Regions from separate parts of the Homo sapiens genome. Here regions 1, 3, 4, 5 and 6 are each linked to region 2. Evidence: promoter capture Hi-C in 16 types of primary human blood cells and fetal thymus (Javierre and others, 2016). All regions are on one chromosome and are shown on one strand. Each heading gives the region's core, a stretch centred on a gene start or on the middle of the fragment in contact. The rest is flanking DNA. Distances are from core to core; before and after follow the strand shown. Region 1 overlaps DAPK1 (death associated protein kinase 1). Region 2 holds the start of TUT7 (terminal uridylyl transferase 7). Region 3 has its middle 23 kb from the start of DAPK1. Region 4 holds the start of CTSL (cathepsin L). Region 5 overlaps DAPK1 (death associated protein kinase 1). Region 6 overlaps DAPK1 (death associated protein kinase 1).

What was found. The method cuts DNA at HindIII sites, captures the fragments that hold promoters and counts their contacts. A CHiCAGO score of 5 or more calls a contact.
Region 1: a contact is called between a fragment that was not itself captured here and the fragment with the promoter of TUT7 in region 2, in 4 of 17 cell types (monocytes, M1 macrophages, M0 macrophages and 1 more). The highest score is 8.6, in monocytes.
Region 3: a contact is called between a fragment that was not itself captured here and the fragment with the promoter of TUT7 in region 2, in 1 of 17 cell types (M1 macrophages). The highest score is 5.5, in M1 macrophages.
Region 4: the fragment with the promoter of CTSL here is called in contact with the fragment with the promoter of TUT7 in region 2 in 1 of 17 cell types (monocytes); the score reaches 6.5 in monocytes.
Region 5: a contact is called between a fragment that was not itself captured here and the fragment with the promoter of TUT7 in region 2, in 1 of 17 cell types (M0 macrophages). The highest score is 6.8, in M0 macrophages.
Region 6: a fragment that was not itself captured here is called in contact with the fragment with the promoter of TUT7 in region 2 in 3 of 17 cell types (M2 macrophages, M0 macrophages and M1 macrophages); the score reaches 12.5 in M2 macrophages.

Annotation. Positions count from the first base shown.
Region 1 is chr9:87,611,456-87,614,471 of GRCh38, reverse strand. The region is part of intron 3 of DAPK1 (death associated protein kinase 1); the gene reads right to left. Among named protein-coding and RNA genes, the nearest start is that of DAPK1-IT1, 60 kb to the right of the region's middle. The HindIII fragment of the contact is 6,433 bases long and covers 1-3,016 here.
Region 2 is chr9:86,352,931-86,355,889 of GRCh38, reverse strand. It overlaps TUT7 (terminal uridylyl transferase 7), which reads left to right and starts at 1,480. Exons shown (of 27, transcript NM_024617.4): 1 at 1,480-1,619; 2 at 2,660-2,959. The coding sequence starts at 2,691. RefSeq lists a silencer at 1,222-1,401 and an enhancer at 1,422-1,631. The HindIII fragment of the contact is 6,298 bases long and covers 1-2,959 here.
Region 3 is chr9:87,473,569-87,476,788 of GRCh38, reverse strand. No RefSeq gene overlaps it. Among named protein-coding and RNA genes, the nearest start is that of DAPK1, 23 kb to the left of the region's middle. The HindIII fragment of the contact is 6,160 bases long and covers 1-3,220 here.
Region 4 is chr9:87,724,805-87,727,800 of GRCh38, reverse strand. It overlaps CTSL (cathepsin L), which reads right to left and starts at 1,682. Exons shown (of 8, transcript NM_001912.5): 1 at 1,403-1,682; 2 at 72-207. The coding sequence starts at 197. RefSeq lists promoters at 365-785, 365-1,404, 1,609-1,819, 1,658-1,839, 197-1,839 and 7 more, cis regulatory regions at 786-1,019, 1,020-1,165, 1,741-1,742, 1,765-1,768, 1,779-1,782 and 10 more and an enhancer at 1,370-1,891. The HindIII fragment of the contact is 5,945 bases long and covers 511-2,996 here.
Region 5 is chr9:87,567,450-87,570,397 of GRCh38, reverse strand. The region is part of intron 2 of DAPK1 (death associated protein kinase 1); the gene reads right to left. Among named protein-coding and RNA genes, the nearest start is that of DAPK1-IT1, 15 kb to the right of the region's middle. RefSeq lists enhancers at 90-259, 2,041-2,210. The HindIII fragment of the contact is 2,520 bases long and covers 204-2,723 here.
Region 6 is chr9:87,529,000-87,532,064 of GRCh38, reverse strand. The region is part of intron 2 of DAPK1 (death associated protein kinase 1); the gene reads right to left. Among named protein-coding and RNA genes, the nearest start is that of DAPK1-IT1, 23 kb to the left of the region's middle. RefSeq lists an enhancer at 768-1,750. The HindIII fragment of the contact is 1,209 bases long and covers 887-2,095 here.

The DNA.
Region 1 (3,016 bases), core at 372-2,871, 1.3 Mb before region 2:
GAATAGTCACCTGCCTGGAGCTGTGACTAAGCAGCATTGCCTCAGTTTCCCAAACTTTAACCACGATCATGGGTCTTTCTTGGAGATAAACAGAGATTCCAAATATTACTTATAGCTCATGTATTCAGCATGGAGAACATCATGGCAGATACTAAAGTTATGACTATATCCTAAAAACTACAGATCTATGAGCTCACAGATACCACATAGGGTTTGTTTGTAAGACTCCTATTGTCTCACTTTTTCTTAAGACCGTGCAGAAATCAAATAATCCACTTCAGTGAGTGAAAATACCTATTTAATAACATTAAGGGAACACTTTTCAACTGAACTGGCAAGAAGTGAGAGTATGGGGGAAGACACACACAGGGTTTTCTTTCTCAAGAGAATGCCTGGATGGAAAATAACCTATTTTACATGATTTAGCTCTGCTTTGAAAGGCAGAGACTGCTGCCAAATGCACTTTACTTCTCTGCTCTTGCCTAATAGTAGGTATCTGAGGAGCGGGATGCCAGAAGTGGAACCCACAAGAGCTCTTGAAATTACCTTTGTGAATAAAGACAAAAGTTCAAAAAGTCAAAAGAGCTGGCTCGAGCTCAGAAAAGAGAGAACAAATGTGGCAGCAAAAGAACGCATTGAGGAAGTCTGAGTGTGTGCTATTGTGGTTCGTGAGCGCCCAGAGAGAAGCAGAGACAGGGAGACTGAAGGGCTCTGTGCCACACACCCCATTTATCAGCTTCCCTAAGTCCCGACCACCACATTCAGCTCTGTACAATTTTTGCCACTTTTAAGATCCTTTGAAACTATCACTTTAATCACTGCATGTGTTTCTTCAAAGGCTCTTGCGATTCTGATCTTGCTGACCAAGGCACCATGTGTTCGTCTACATACATGCACCACGCTGACATACAATGAAAAACAAAGTTGTATTTGTATTCTGATTATTTTGCATCTCAGTTTGGTTATGAGAGAGTGAGCCAACTGAACCGTGATCCTACATAAAGTGACCTAATATTGCACAAATGTTTGAATACAACTTAGCAGTTGTTTGTGATGGGCAAACTGAATTCCAGAAATTATTAACTTAGCCAAAGTAAAACACAGAGCTAAAAAGGAGTTGTTCAATAGGCACAGCATTTCAGTTTTGCAAGACGAAAAGGTTCTAGAAATCTGTTGCACAACAATATGCATAGAATTAACACTGCTGTACTGTGCACTTAAAAATGGTTAAGATGGTAAACTGTATGTTGTTTTACCATGATTAAAAAAATCAGCAAAATTTACCTTTTTAAATATAAAAAATGCATTATTCACTCCACGCCCTGCACTTGGCTACAACCATAGCAGACTGCACTAATTAAATGGAATTTCCTGTCACAAAGAAAGAGAGAGAAAGCTAAATGGGGTTACTCTGTTTTAAAGATGTGCTTCGAAATGGAAGCAGAACAAATAAGGGGAGACATTTAGGATTGGAGAACCAAACTGGCTTGATTTCTCTGGAACAATCCACCATGCCAATACTTACTTGGCCATCTTAGCACTTTTACTTTATAATTCTTAACATGGTAACCTTTCAGACATGTGATCCAGAGCTACTCAGGTGACCATCCTGAAGCAGGCCAGAACCTGGTGATGTCCATTTCTTCCTTATCTTATGTTAGACTCCAAACCCCCACCCCCGCTCCAATCCTTCTCTGCTCAGGCTATCTGCAGGGAGTGAGATGTATGTATTGCGTCATTTTGCAGTTACCTGATGGCATTACCATAATTAGGCATTATGTTTTGTTTTGTTTCTAACTTGCTTATAGAATTTTAGATCAACATGCGAGTAGGCTCCCAGTCCAGGAAATCTAGTTTCTGTTAACTGGTGCCTCTGTGTTAGTTTCCTAGGCCTGCCCTAACAAAGGACCACACATGGGGTGGTTTAAAACAACAACCTGCTATCACATAGTTTTGGGGGCTGGCAGTCCTAACTCAGTACGTTGGTAGGGATGGTCCTTCTAAGGGATCTGAGGATGAATCTGCTCCATGCCTCTGTCCTAGTTTCTGGCAGGTTCCTTGGCGTATAGATGCTTCACTCCATTCCTCTGTCTCCACAGGGCCTTCTTATAAGGACACCAGTCCTATCAGATTAGGTTCTCTGTGCTATTCCAGTATGACCTCATCTTAACTAATTACATCTAAAACAATCTCATATCCAAAAAGGTCATGTTCTGAGATACTATGGTGCTACGGTTTGAATGTTTGTCCTCTCCAAAACTCAAGTTGAGATTTAATTGCCATTGTAAGAGTGTTGAGAGGTAGGGACTTTAAGAAGAAATTTAGGCCATAAGGGCTCCTCCACCTTCATGGGTCAGTTTAGTACCTTTAAAAAAGGGCTCCTGGGAGTGGGCTCTTGCCCTCTCTTGCCACGCGATGCCTTTTGCCATGTTATGACAGTAAGAAGACTCACATCACATGCAGCAAAATGTACTTCCTGCCTCCAGCACTGTAAGACATAAACTTATTTTCTCTATAAATTACCCAGTCTGTGGTCTTGTTATTGCAAAACCCAAAATGAACTAAGACAGGGACATAGCACTTCAACATATCCTTTTTGGGGAGCACAGCCTCTCAAAAGATGAACCCAGACCAGCAGCATCCGCATCACCCGGGAATCTGTTAAAAATGGAAATTCTGGCTTTCAAGGTTAGGAAAAAAGGAAAAATTGAAATTCTGGCTGGGCGTTGTGGCTCACAACTGTAATTCCAGCAACTTGGGAGGACAGGGTGAGAGGGCTGCATAAGCCCAGGAGGTCGAGACCAGCCTGAGCAACAAAATGACACTGAAGCTACAAAAAATAAAAAATAGCTGAGTGTGGTGCCACACACCTGTAATCCCAGCTACTCAGGAGGCAGAAGTGGGAGAATCACTCGAGCCCGGGAGTTCAAGGCTGCAGTGAGCTATGATTGCACCACTGCATTCCAGCCTGGGTGACAGAATGAGACCCTGTCTCAAGAAAAAAACCAAAAAGTCA
Region 2 (2,959 bases), core at 231-2,730:
ATCAGTTTGATCCTCACGTATTTTCACAATCAAAATATCTAAGTAAGGAATTATATAAAAGTTGTAGGAATGTGTTTTATATCACTTTTAGTATAGCCACATGGTTAATAACAGCCTCATATTCAGGGTCTGGATTGCAGCAGTGCCATTTACTTCACTGCAAGTGCTAAATGTCCTCATCTTTAAAAGTGGGATAATGATATAGTCTTCATGAAGCTGTGAGGATTAAAGAAGTTAAGGCTGGGTATGGTGGACCACCCCTGTAATCCCAACACTTTGGGAGGCCAAGTTGGGCGGATGGCTTGAGGTCAGGAATTGGAGAGCAGCCTGGGCAACATAGGAGACCCCTGTCTCTACAAAAATATAAAACAAAGGAGTTAATATTTGTAAAGCCTTCAAAACAGTTATTGGCATAGCCAGAACTTTGTGTGTTATTATTTTAAGACCATTGCTCCACAGGACCTGACAGCTTTCAATTTACATGCTTTAAAAAAGCAGAGAAATGAAAACTGTCGATTTTCCCAACGCTCCCTAATTTCACTAGTTGCTTGATGTTTTTCAAAGCATTTAGAACACTGTAAACAGCAAGGAAGGTCATACAGTAAAGAAAGAAAAAGCAACCCCGAGTTCGAGGTGTGCACTCTTCAACTCAAAAATTCGAATGTAACGCTCTCTGGTCATCCCTTGCCATTACACATATTCTTCGAAATGAACTGATTTTTTTTTTTTCCAAGTAAAAGTAATCCTTACACAACCTAAGAAAAAAGCAGAGCATTTTCCTTGACCACTTTGAGATCTGGGTGAGCAGTGGATGTTTAAATGCTGGCATTTCTACAAGGTCGGCAATTAAGAATTCACGAAAACATTAATCACTACGAATTATCAGAAAAACACCAAGAGCGCTACGAGGCCTCGGAGCCTTTACTCCCCCTGGAAGTAACCGGGGAGCACCCAGGGGCAAAGCCGAGGCCCCAAGCGCGGGGAATGCGGCTTTGCCCGACCGCTGGCTCCGCGTCCCTCTCCGGGTGCATAAGTCTTGGCTCCCGCGCCTCTCCCGAGCACTTAGCCTCCCGAGCAGAGAGGGGAACCAGAGGAGCGTCGAAGCCGGGAGAGAAAAGGGGCGGGCGCCGCTCTGGTAAGAAGTTCGGGCCTGGCCCCCAAGCGCCGGCGAACCGGCTATCCGGCGAGCCAGTAATTAGCCCGCTCCGACGGTTGCGCCCGGTGGCCAGACCCGGCGCCCGACACCTGGAGCGAGTGCGCTGGGGCGCCGGACAGGAGAGGCCAGGCTGGCAAAGGCGCGGGAGGCGGGGTCGGAGCGTGGGCGGGGCACCGCGGGGCGGGGCGCGTCGCTCGTTTCCGGTGTGCGCGGCGGAGCGCTAGGGCGGGGGCACAGTCGGCTCCCAATCGCGCACAATGAGACAGCGCTGAGCGCCGGAAGTGGGGCCGAAGGAAAACACGGAGAGGGAGCCCGGCCGGGACAGGAAGAGGCTGGGGACCGCGGCGAAGGTGGTGAGTGCTCTTGGGCGCCTTCTCCCAACGTCCCTGCCAGACTCGCCTCCGGGCTGATTCTCCAGTTGGTTTCCTGGACTCCAGAGTAGCTGTCCGGCCTGGCCCCGGAGGTACGTTGGTTCCATCCCCCGCCGGCCTCCTCGCACCAGTTTGGGTGACCGAGGAACCCCCAGGCCGGCAGAGGCTGAGCCCTCGGGTTCGAGTCCGTGTTTTCACTTTTTGTCAGACTGCGGGCGCAGAAGACGGGATTTGGGTCAAGACATTCGGCTCTGGCCCCCTGGCCGGCCGGGGGAACCCTGGAACCCCATGGAGACAGCAGGTCACTTCCTGCTTCCTGGTCCCCACGGTGGCTTCTTGGCCAGGAGTGCAGGGACGCCTCCTCTTTCTCCACGTCGGGCTCAAAAGGGTGGAAACTAAGGCAGATCGGTGGTGGAGCGGTCAGATGGGGATTGAAGAGGAGTGTCATTCCTCAGGGAATTGCTGTTCCTGACAAAACCAAACTTGTTTGGGGTTGGAGAACGGGGATTGAGGAGGTTAGATGGAGTTGTCCCTTGATCGGAAACCCAGCCTCTTTAATTACAGCTGCACCTTGGTCGGAAGCCCAGCCCCTCCGTAACCTAAGCGCTCAAAGCCGGTCTGTCCAGAATAGGGGTGGTGAAGGGACGGAAAATTGGAGTTGAGAAATGTAGTACTCCTTTCACGTAAAGTTTCGGTGTATAACACTTACAAGTAATTGCCAACTTAAAAAACAAAAGACTGTTTCGGTAGTTTAGTAATAATATTGGCTTGGGATGAGGTTTTCTTTGAAGAGAAACGCCTTGTTACAGAGGGAAAAGCCGACCATACTTGATATGAGTAATATTCTACTATGCTACAGTTCTGGAACCTATAGAGCTTCTCTTATTCACACATTTAATCTTCATGCTAAATAGTAAGTATTAATTTTCATGAAGAATATTAGAGGACCAAGCCTCCCAACCTCTAGGGTAAAGCACTGATTATTAAGAATGTGATAGAATTTTTATTTTAAAAAAATAGGGAGTTTCTTTCTTACAGGCTTTGGGGCATCTGTACGATAAATTGTTATTTTGTATACTTGTATGATATCTTGTTATATAGTTTGATATTTCCCCAAAATACCTTCTTTCAGGTGCAAAGTAAGAAAATTGAAGTCAAAGACCATGGGAGATACAGCAAAACCTTATTTCGTGAAGCGCACTAAAGACCGGGGGACTATGGATGATGATGACTTCAGAAGGGGTCACCCCCAACAAGATTATTTAATAATAGATGACCATGCTAAAGGCCATGGCAGTAAAATGGAAAAGGGCCTTCAAAAAAAGAAGATAACACCAGGGAACTATGGGAATACCCCCAGAAAAGGACCATGTGCTGTTTCCAGCAATCCATATGCATTTAAAAACCCAATCTACAGTCAACCCGCTTGGAT
Region 3 (3,220 bases), core at 652-3,151, 1.1 Mb before region 2:
TTTTTTGAGACTGAGTCTCGCTCTGTCGCCCAGGCCGGAGTGCAGTGGAGCGATCTCGGCTCACAGCAAGATCCACCTCCTGGGTTCACGCCATTCTCCTGCCTCAGCCTCCCGAGTAGCTGGGACTACAGGTGCCCGCCGCCACGCCTGGCTAAGTTTTTGCATTTTTAGTAGAGACGGGGTTTCACTGTGTTAGCCAGGATGGTCTCGATCTCCCGACCTCATGATCCACCTGCCTCGGCCTCCTAAAGTGCTGGGATTACAGGCGTGAGCCACTGCACCCGGCATGGGAAATCTTATTAGGGTTTTAAAGTCAGGTAGTTTTGGTGAAGAGCCTCCTGAACTTTCACCTTCCACTCTGTAGCTTATTCTAGGGAGTAGATTCATAGCTCACCTTTTGACTGGCACCTATCCTGAATGACAGACAAGGCCTATTTATCCACAGTGTTTCCCTATGGAATATTTGTGTTTATTTGTTCTGCCTCCATAAAATGTAGTTTTGAACTTCCAAGAAGAAAGAGAAAAACAAGAAAATGAAACCTCACAATTATTTAGTGGGAGTTGTACACACTGTTATGGCCACAAACTGTCTTTGCGGGCAGGATGCTTCATTTTACATTTCGGCTCCCTTCCTGTATAAACATGAGCAAATTACTGAAATTACCTATACCTCAGTTTCCTCCTTAGAAAAATGAGGATATTAGTATCTACCTCATAGGGTTTTTGTGAGTTTTAAATGTCTGTATAGCCTGGAGCCTGGCATACAATGAATATAGATTTTATTTTTATGATCTGATTTGCAATATCATGCCCATCATATAAAATTATGAGGAACTGGATGATTACTGTTATATATTGTGGAGATATAATTAAGATAAAAATAATGACAATGAAAGGGCATCATTTAATTTTAAACAATTGCTAAATGATTATGCTATATTTCCTGTTATCATCATGATCATAGAAGGGAGATAGACCTGGCATTGACTCTAGCAGGAAGGTCTAGAGAAGAGATAACAAGTGAATAGATGACAATTTTATGAGCTCAAAGTGAGCTCAGAATTCATTCCTCAGCAAAAATAGAACAGTACAGATTTCTCACATACTCTACGTTCTGAGAGGAAAAAAATAACTCACTGAGAGAAAAGGATAAAATAGTGTAGGAGTATTTCAAAGTGGTCGGGGAAAGAAAAGTCTTCTGGTTGCTCCTTTGAAGTTAGATTGAAATGAGTCTATTCCCTACCCAAGAAAAGAAGACATGATTTGCAGTGTATATTTAATTTTTGCTAAAAATATGTAGCTAAGAGAAAGCCAAGGAAATATTTTCATTTAAGAGAAGCCAACTTTGGTGTTGTTTTCTGTGTGGGTGGAAAGTGCTGTGTTTTTATTCTTGCCAATCAATAACCAAAATTCACAGTCTCAATACACATTCCCATTCAATGATTATAACCTTATCTTGGTCTTTGGGGAGGCTAATGTTCAAAGCAGTCAAGTTCTCCAAGGATAAACGTTTCTTTCTCCAGTTGATGTGTGCATTTCCCTGATGGACAACCAAGAAGTTACTTCTACTATTCTACCAACATTTTTTACTGCTTGAAATTAAGCTGCATTCCACTCGGAGGTTGCATCTGAACATAAACTAGACCCCTTGACACATTCTCCTTGGTATGTTTGGAGCAAGGCCGGAGGCATGCCACATGCTGGGGTGGACAGAGCATAAGTTTAGAGTCAGATAAGCCAGGTTCAAATCCCAGTGCTGTCACCTTACAAATGAGTAAGAGGGGATAATGATACCTATCTCATGGGGCCTTTATTAGAATTAATGAGGTCATGTATGCGTTCATTAGGGAAGTATGAGTAGGGCCATCTGGAGATTTCACACTGCCTGAATTTGAGTTCCATTTCTATCACAGTTGTGTGACATTGGAAACACTGGGGTCAGTTGTCTTTATCTATAAAGTGGGGAGAATGATAGTTCCTGCCCCATTAGGGTAGTTGAGATGATTAAAAATAAATAATAGGCCGGGCACGGTGGCTCACACCTGTAATCCCAGCATTTTGGGAGGCCGAGGCAGGTGGATCACCTGAAGTCAGGAGTTTGAGACCAGCCTGGCCAACATGGTGAAACCCCATCTCTACTGAAAATACAAAAATCAGCCAGGTGTGGTGGCAGGCACCTGTAATCCCAGGTACTCAGGAGGCAGAGGCAGGAGAATCGCTTGAATCCAGGAGGCAGAGGTTACAATGAGCTGAGACTGTGCCACTGTACTCCAGCCTGGGCAACACAGCAAGACTCTGTCTCAAAAAAAAAAAAAAGAAAAGAAAGAAAGACTATATGACAGCGTACATGTGCTTGGCTACTGTTAATCAGTATTATTTCTTTTTGGTCTTCTCTATTGAGAAGGCTTTATTTCTTTGCTCTTTTATCATGGGGATTGTTTTCAACCATCTAAGTTTCCTTGACTTTTCATTCTCCTGAACTCCTGCAGTGGTTTTTTGCACCTCTCTGACAGCACTGTTCCCGTGGAGTAGTTATTTTTATGTGTCGGCTTTGCTGGGCCACAGTATCCAGTTACTCAAACACTTATCTAGGTGTTGCCATGAAGGTAGCTTGTAGATGAGGTGAACACCTACAATAAGTTGATTTTTTTTTTTTTTGAGTCGGAGTCTCACTCTGTCACCCAGGCTGGAGTACAGTGGCACAATCTCGGCTCGCTGCATTGCTCTGCCTCCCGGGCTCACGCCATTCTCCTGCCTCAGCCTCCCGAGTAGCTGGGACTACAGGCGCCCGCCACCACACCCAGAGAATTTTTTGTATTTTTAGTGGAGACGGGGTTTCACCGTGTTAGCCAGGATGGTCTCGATCTCTTGACCTCGTGATCCACCCGCCTCGGCCTTCCAAAGAGCTGGGATTACAGGCATGAGCCACCGTGCCCGGCCTAATAAGTTGACTTTAAGTAAAGGAGATTTTCCTGGATGACATGAGTGAGCCTCATCTAGTCTGTTGAAAGTCCTAAGAGCAAAAACTGGAGTTTCTAGGAAAAGAAGAAATTCTGCCTCAGGACTGCGGTGTCAACCCCTCCCTGAGTTTCCAGCCTGCCGGCCTGCCCTGTAAATTACAAACACAGCAGCCTCCACAATTGCATGAGCCAATTCCTTAAAATAAATAAAACTTTTCTTATCTGCTGCTGCTTCTGTTTCTCTACAGTGCCCTGATAAT
Region 4 (2,996 bases), core at 433-2,932, 1.4 Mb before region 2:
CTCTAGAAGCTACTCTCTGACTAAAACTTCTCAACAGCCAGGACTATTCTTTCTGGGGAAGTTTCACTAACCATGCCGTATAATCTGTTGTGCATCGCCTTCCACTTGGTCCACTGTGCCTCTAAACTGTGATCAAATGTTAGAGTAGCTGAGGCAATTCCCAGGCAAAAGGCAGCAAGGATGAGTGTAGGATTCATGTTTTAAAACCTAGGAAGGGAACAAAAATGAGGATCTGATTAGACCAATCCTAAAAAGCCATCTTACTGCCCCCTGAAAAATTAGGGCCACCATGGTAGAATAAAAATATTTAAATTATTCTCCCAAGCATTTACCCAAGGACTGTGGAAGAGGCCAAGGATGTGCCTGGAGAAAAACAGGGCACGTGGAGGTACTGGATGGACTCACCAAAATGAAAAGCAGCCTGTCCAGAGCTGTAGGAGCTGAAACAGTTTATGCGATGACAATTTAGGTTATGAGAACGGTATGAAACTACCTTGTGTGTGAGAAGCTTAAGGCAACAACTAGGAAACCGGGAAACGGTTGATCCAGGTTTTGTACCAATCGCAAAAAATCCAGGTTTCGTGCCCAGGCAAAACCTCACTAATGATAAGGTGGGATTCCCAAGTAGGGACAAAGAGATCCCCAAGAGTTAGGAGGCCTTCACACATCTTCCTGACTAACAAACACCAAAAGCTGAGATAAGTTTTCCAATCTCTCCTATTTATTTATTTATTTATTTATTTATTTATTTATTTATTTTTTGAGATGGAGTCTTGCTCTGTGGCCCAGGCTGGAGTTCAACGGCGCGATATCGGCTCACAGCAACCTCTGCCTCCCGGGTTCAAGCCATTCTTCCTCAGCCTCTTGAATAGCTGGAACTACAGGCGTGCGCCGCCTCGCCCGTCTAATTTTGTATTTTCAGTAGAGACGGGGTTTCACCATGTTGGCCAGGCTGGTCTCGAACTACTGACCTCAGGTGATCCGCCCACCTCAGCCTCCCAAAGTGCTGGGATTACAGGAGTGAGCCACCGCGCCGCCCCAACCTCTCCTTAAATGAAACCTTTCTGAAATGCTTTCCCAGGAAAAACTGGGAAGGAGAGCACGCACTGCTCCCTCCTTCATTCACTTGGGCCTGTGCTGCCGACACCCCAAACTGCTCCCCTAAATCAGGGACGGGGTCATATGGCCGCACGCGGGAAGCCAGCGCCCTGCAGCCAGCTTCCAGGGCTCCAGGCGTGGCAGGGCCGGGGACATGACGCCTGCGCCACACACTGGCTGTAGCGGTCAGAGGATGTTTGCGGTGACGCCAGCAGGAGTACCGCTGTCTGGCGTGCGGGGACTGAGCTTCCCTGTCTGGCCGGGCCAGGCCCTGAGTCGGCGCGGCGCGGCCTGGCTGCGGTACCTGTGTCCACCCGGCTCGGAGGCTGGCCTGCCCGCTCAACCAGTCACGCGCCTCCGCGGGGTCCTCAACTGCCCTCCCCGGCTTCCCCACCTCAAGGCCAGCAGAGTTCGGGGTAGACGCTCTCGTTGCCAGGGCTGGTGCACACCTACTCGACCGCGTCCTCTCTTCCAGTCCCTGTCCGGCCACAGCTGGGCCTGGCCGGCGGCGCTTTCCTGCTGCGGTCGTAGCTGCGCAGGCGCACTCCACGGATGCCGCTCAAGGTTGCGGAGGTCGCGGTTCTGGCCCAGCTTCGCCTGACTCTGCTTCTAAAACCTCGGGTCTGGGTTCGGCCGGCACCGCCCCGCCGCCTGGCTGCGCTGCGATTGGCTGTGCCGGCAGCTGGGCGGGGACTCTGGGTGCTCTGATCCCTGGCGCGGTTCGTGGCTTGTTTACTGACTGTCCCAGAGCTGGGCGTGCCTGCCTCAGTGGACCTGGAGGAAGCAGAGCTGGTGCCCCGGGGCGGCGCAGAGTAGGGTCGGGCGTCTCCCTGGAGCGCTCGAGTCAACTAAGTACACGACTTACTGCACTGGGCGAGTGGCTCCTGAAAAGACGTTTACCGCAAGCCCTGTGTGGACTGTTTCAGCCTAACCTTGCTATTCCTTAGTCCTGGAATTTTTGGTCCGCAGAGCCGAGAGTCAAGTGTACTCTAGTCCAGTGGCTCCTGTTTAGTCCACAGCAAACGTGGGGCCGGGTGGACGAACGCAGAGCCCGCGGGCAGAAGCCTTATCTCCCACTTAAGGGTGGGTGCAGCTGGGCTTTAGAAGAATCTGGTAAGGAAAGGCATCCCCAAAACACGAGATGCTATCGTCAAGACCAGACCCTAGGAGGGAGGAGACTGGCTGCGTCTCCAGAGAGCGCGGGCGTTTTGTCAAGCATCCTTTCCAGACTCCTCCATTCAGGGATTCTTCCTTCTCCCACGTCTTACCCAAAACCAACAGAAATGAGTTATTTACAGAAACATTTGGTTGACAGGAGAAAAGCAGTTGAGAACATTAGAAGCTGCTTTTATTCGCCCACTCTCTAGGCTATGGATTATATCTTCCTTGGTAACCAAGTCGTTCTCTTGAGATTTAAGAAATTTAATGACATTTAATGTCAGGATTTAAGATACAGAGAATGGAGAAATGTTGTAGATAGAGGAAAAATATGTATCTTAATCTGTATAATGTAGATATTAATTTATGTAATTAAGGATTTAAGGAACAAAACCCACAAACATTCTAAACTTTTGTCATTTCATTTTTTATTACATAAAAACATTCATTGTAGAAAATACCTTTCGGGGAAAAAAATAATTACCTCTGCCTTTACCCCATAACCTTTTCGTATGCATATTTTGACTTTGTTAAAAATGAACAAAGTCCATTGATTTCTATTGAAGATTAAACTGATAACTCTTTTAGAAGCACAATCACCTATAGTTTTTTAAGTGGTAAAATATACCTCACATAGCAAGTACCATTTTAACCAACTTTGAGTTCAGTAGCATTAAGTACCTTCACATTGTGTAACCATTACTACTGTTTATTCCCAGAGCTTGTTTATCTTCCTAAAC
Region 5 (2,948 bases), core at 214-2,713, 1.2 Mb before region 2:
TGTTATAAAATTAGTTCCCTAAACATAATTTTTCTCTTCTTTGCTAATGGACAACTTCTAGTACCTCTCTGTGTTAATAATTAGACAAAGCTGGAGTCAGAAGTGAAGTTTCTATTAGACAGAGAGGCATAAACAGAGTAAGAATGAAGTGTGTCTTGTGTACATATGGGAGGGAAAATGAGGTTCAAGAGTCCATAAAAGCTTTAGTAATATTTGATCAGCAGTGTTTGTGCCTTCTTTTTCCTGGACTGCAACTAACATAAATTTTTCTCTTATCAAAGTGATTAAAAAAAAATAGAAAGTGACTCAGTTATGCAAACTTCAAGATAAGGTGTAAAAGAATCTGATGCAGGAAAAAACACACATTGCTTTTGTCTTATAAGCATTTCTAGCTCATTAAGACTCAGAAACACAAATATAATAAGACCAGAAATAAAATCATGACATTCGGAAGTCTAGAAGTAGTAGTTTATGGTGATTTCATTAATCAGAAAATAATACCTAAAACTTTATTTACCAATTTAGTGAAAGTTGTTTTCTGAAGTCTTAAAAATAAAGGAAGAGGACAAATAGTTCTCAGCCTTGCATTTACAGCTGTTTGGCACCACTTCTATAAACCACCCTTCCAGCCAAGAAACTTAACACAAGATTAATGGACTGGAAGACCTCTCGTAGGGAAAGCCTGGGTTTAACCAAAAGGCACTGCTACACACCCGGATGCACCCGCATTGACACTGACAGGATCCAGTTCTGCACCCACTTCCTTTGAAAAACATGGCCTATCAGCTTGAATTCTCCAGCAGTGAGAACTTAGGTAATCACACGTTTTGAGCCTAAACTGACATCCATTTCAAAAGATCGATTTTCCATCCAACTGCTTGTCAAAAGTAGGACACTAAAGTATTTATATGTATTAATTGCAAATTGAAATAACCTATCTGCGTATTTCTATATGGGCACCTGCGATGAAGCACATAAGTCAATGATCACCTGAGTCTCGCTGGAGGTAGAGCTTTGAAAAATACAGGTTCCTGGGCTCCCCCGTGAACTCTGGATTCAGTCCATGGGGCAAAGCCCAGCAACCTGCATTTTAAAGAGCTCCTGGGTGCTTCTGATGCACAGTGAACTCTAAAACTCACAGACTGGAGTAGTAATTCTCAACCATCGTCAGTGGGGGAGGGGAGCTGTTGAAAGTCCAGATGCCCTCACCAGACTCCACACCAATTAAGTCCTAATCTCTGAGGCTGAGCCCAAGTACAGGCAGTGTTTAAAGTTCAGAGGGATTCCCCAACCAGCCAAGGCTGAGAACCACTGAGGTTAATGCAAAGGGATGCTACTTATTAAAAAAACACACGTGACCTGGAGAATTTCCTCTATCAAGAGAATCTGCCTCGCCCCACACCTCCAGTATTTTTTAATCACTCCTACTAAGTTAGCTGGATTCTGTATTCCTCTAAAATTCCTTTCTCAGTATAAAGTCTGCTCATCACATCAGACCACCACACATCTGAGGACAAGAAATGAGTTCTTTACTGTGGAGAGCTCCCCTTTCCCACCCAGGGAGTAAATGATCAAGGCCTGCAATTTGGAAGTGGACCAGTTTTGCAACAGCCCCAACACTATATGGCTCAGAGACCCATTACCCACTCTGCAAGGATTTTTAGAAAATGATTTGTAATAACTTGGGTGCATCACACAAGGTACATGTGACAGCCTTCCCCTTCCATATCCTAGTGGGTTGTCACCTTGTGCAGAGAGGACGGAGGAGGCACGGTCAGGCTGCAAGGTGACGCCACCCACACTGCATCCCACCTTCCCACTCTCTTTAGCCAACATTCCTTGAAGCTGGGGGACCCAGAGCAGGCACAAGAAGATGACTCCATGAAAAAACATCTCCCCCACAGAATGCATTAATTAGAAGCTAAATTGCTTCAACAAAACTCTTTTCAAATGCAAGTACCATCAAAAGAAGCCTATTCACCAAGGAGTGTTGCTTTAATCCACTGATCACAACTGGAGTGTTGTGTGGGATGGTGTCTGTTTGATCCAGAGCAATGGGCACAGTGTTTTGAAAAGAACTGAATCCACTGTCAATATTTTAAAACTCTGATTCCCAGCAATGCATGAAGACTTGGAAGAGCTGGCAGCGTTGGCCCACGGCCTGCAGGCAGTCAGCGCCCAATGCATAGCGACTGCCCCTTCAGATGGCCCCGTGCGCTCCAGCTGGACACAGGCCCGCAGCTCCCCGGTGCCTTATGCCTGGGTGGCTTCACTCCTCCTCACTGCTGTCTGCAGAGCCAACTCTTCTTTCATCAGTAACTCACCCTAAAGGGGCAGAGCTGGTGACAGCTTTGTAATCACAGTTTTGGTCTTCTACTCATTTAGCCATGAGACCTTGGACCGTCTTCTTGGAGCCTTAGTTTCCTTAGCATTACCATTTCAACTGAATAGTGGCAGCCTTTTTGGGGTGTCTATAAATATTAAAAGAAACTGAAAGTGAACACGAAAGCATTTGGAAATGATGGAGCAGTATGCCCATGGAAACGATCGCTAGCCAATCCATTCAACACAGCAACTCAGAACCCTTGAGTCATGCTTGGGAGGGACGCCATGGAGGGAGGTCCGGTGGGGTGGGGCTCACAGACTCATTCGGAGGCAATCTGAGGAATCCAGGTGGTAGCCCTATGAGTGCAACAACTCCATCTCCAGCACTGAGAAAAGCTTAATCCTAACAAGGGCTCCTACCATGGCAAGCGTGCCAGTGGAAACCAAGAGGCTATAGGTTCTTGAATTCAAATGAAGAGGCTACAAAAAGCATCCTCACAACCGAGCCTAATTCCCTGGCTACTTCCAGTCTGACCCCGCAACTCCAATTGTGAGCGGGGTCTACTGATCCACACCTGGTCTTTCTCTAACAGGAAGAAACACAGGAGGATGGAAAGACATCG
Region 6 (3,065 bases), core at 242-2,741, 1.2 Mb before region 2:
TAATCCCAATTTGGCCAGAAAGAAGAGATCGAGCCTAGCTTAGCACTAAGGCCTGTTCAGGAACGTGTTTGTTAGTAATGATGATGCCTCTTAAAAGGCAAAACCAAGAGTCAGGCCCATAAGCATTAAGCATTTCCTAGAACACATTAATATCAGCCCAGGGGGCACATGGAGGGAAAACTACTGCACAATAAGGAGGCCCCTGGGGATTTCTCTGAACTCATCCCCACCTCTCAGACTTGCCTCTCTTCCTGCATTCCAATATTCTCTAATATTCTGTGGACATTCCTTTATGTTCACAGGAAACAATAAGACACAATAATTGAACTTTCAGGCAACCAGCTTTTTAAGCTATGTACAATAGACAGCACCTGTATGAAATCCTGGGCATAATTCTGGTTGTGACAGTTCAATGCCCTACACTGGGGAGAGGACTGTTTTTTCTCAACATTACACTGAAGTGACAGCTCCTCTGCCTTTTTCTACTCATCCTCAGGTCAATATTGCAGCACAGGTTTGCACCAGTCTGAGACACGCCAGTCTTTGCTGTGCAGTGAATGCCCTCTTACCCCCAACTTCTCCCTTCACCACCTACAAAGGCTTCAGATGGACTCACTGTCCTAACTATTCTTCTTTCTATTTATTCTGGTTCCCCAAATTACAAAGTATACTCTATGAAGAAAACACAGGAAAGCCCCAAGGGAAAAATCACGTCCATTTTCAAATATTGTTTCTTCTTTGAACGACCAGGCCTGAGGCTGGTGGCACCAGTAATGAACTCCAGCCAGCTACTGGCAGTGAACATCGGGTATGGATAGACCAGCCCTCTAGTCAGAGGGGACTCACGCACAAGCTATGACCCACACTGCAGTGGAAACGAAAAGCTTGCTGAGCCCACTGCGTGCAACAATGCAATGATCAGAGCATTTTATCCTTAAATAATATTTTTGACCTAGATCTCTCCCCCTAACCCCTTCTCACTCCAGAGAAGGAATTAGATAGATACTTTAAAATATATCCATGCTTCCACTTGACTATCCAAAGGGTAAGCATTTCCTGAATTCACTGGTCTGTTTTTAAAAGGCCTGGCGCTAATGCTCGGCTCACAGCTGCTCCATCCCCCTGGGAAAGGAAGTTACTTAAAATCTTTGAAGAAGAGACCTGCATGAATATGGAGAGGTCACTGGTCTGGCCCCAGTGACTACCTTTGTTCCAGTGAGGATGACCTTCAAAGGGGCCCTTGGGGGTTTCTTTGGATGTTTGTTCCCACCTGCGACAAGAAGGCTCCCCTCTGTGCATCCCTCATGTGGCTCCAGCACATGAAACCCCAATGTCACAAAGGGAAATCGGCTCAGTCTGTCCCATAATGTCAGAATTCCCTAGATGGTGGGGTTTAAAAATTAAATAGCATGTCTCTCTTTTTAAAGAACTAACTTCATATTCTTCAAACAGAAAGAAATTATTCTGAAATTTCTGAAGAAGTACAGTGGATAAAAGAACTTTTCATCCATTATTAAATCTAAAAGGGAGTGCATGGGACTGCATATTAACTTCCTCTTCCAATTTCAAAACGGGTTAAGGAAAGTAGACATAAGATTTGACCCTTGGAGACACTGAGGTTGTTAATGTGCTTAATATAAATTCCCCTTACAAAACAGACTTGAAATTAACTTGCACATTTAAAATCAAGCTACCCTACAGAGGGCTAGATGTAGGAACTGGTAATACAGCCTGTGTTGGTTAGGCAGTGTCTTTGAGATTAATACTAAAAGTTACAAGATCTCTCAACTGCTTCCCCAGGACTTCTGACGACCAAATCAAAGTGGCAGGCTCAGGGTCAGCTTATTCCTCACATTCTGGAAAATAGTGGAATAATAACAATAGAACATAATGGGAACCATATAAGTTCTCACTGGGGAAAAGAGAGGGGCAAGATTAGGCTGTGCTTTTTCCATTCCAAATCCCAGAGGGGGAAAGCCTAAATAATAAAAACAGGACTGCGTTGAGGACTTAGGCACATTCTCTCATTTCGTCTGCACAGATATCTAAGGAAGTTCTCATTATCTTAATGAGGAAGCAGGGGTTCTGAGAAGCTTGGGCGGGCGGCATTAGGGAAGTTAGGGAGGCATCAGCTCCTCCTCTGCACCAAGCATTCTTATGAATCCCAAATTTAAAGGCCCAGAGGTGAGTAGGAGGAAATTTAGAGCAGATGACCACAGAACAACAGAACAGGTCTGACCTGTTCTAGGGGCAGGTGACAGGGACTCGCCTCCTGGCATTCTCCCAGCCTAGCCTGAGCCCCTTGGGTCTGGTGGCTTCTTTGCTCCAGGCAGCCTCAATGCAGTCAAGGGTCCTTGCAGATAAAGGCACGTCCACTGCATTCCACGTACTGTTAAAGCTCTGTCCCCTCCTGTGCAACCTGGGCCTTCCCTCCACCTTTGCAGCCAAGAAATAAACACAAACTGATAATCCAAAGACTGTGCCATATATCCCCCAGAGCATGTGGTATACACTCCATAACTTTTTACTGAGCATCTACTATGTGTCAGGCACTGTTGTAGATGCTCAGGATAAAACAGACACCAAATCTCCTCAAAGAGTCACAGAATAAATGATACCCTTAATTTTTAATTTAAAAGATAAATTAGTAAGATCACGTTAGAAATACCTTAGAAACTACTAGGTACTAGTGTTACTGGAAGCGAATCTGTATGGGTCTGCAGCAACCTCAATTCTTTTCTCCTCAAAAGAAAGAATTCGACCAAGGGGGCCTAAGGCAGAAGAGACTGAGGCAAGTTTTAGAGCAGGAGTGAAAGCTTATTGAAAAGCGCTAGAGCAGAAATGAAAGGAAGTAAAGTACACTTGGAAGAGGGCCCAGGAGGCGACTTGAGAGATCAAGTACGCGGTTTAACATTTTGACTTGGGGTTTTACATGTTGTCAGACTTCTGGGGTCTTGTGCCCCTTCTCCCCTGATTCTTCCCATGGGGTGGCTGTCTGCATGCTTAGTAGCCTGCCAGCACCTGGGAGGTGAGCACACACAGTGTGTTTACTGGAGTCATACACA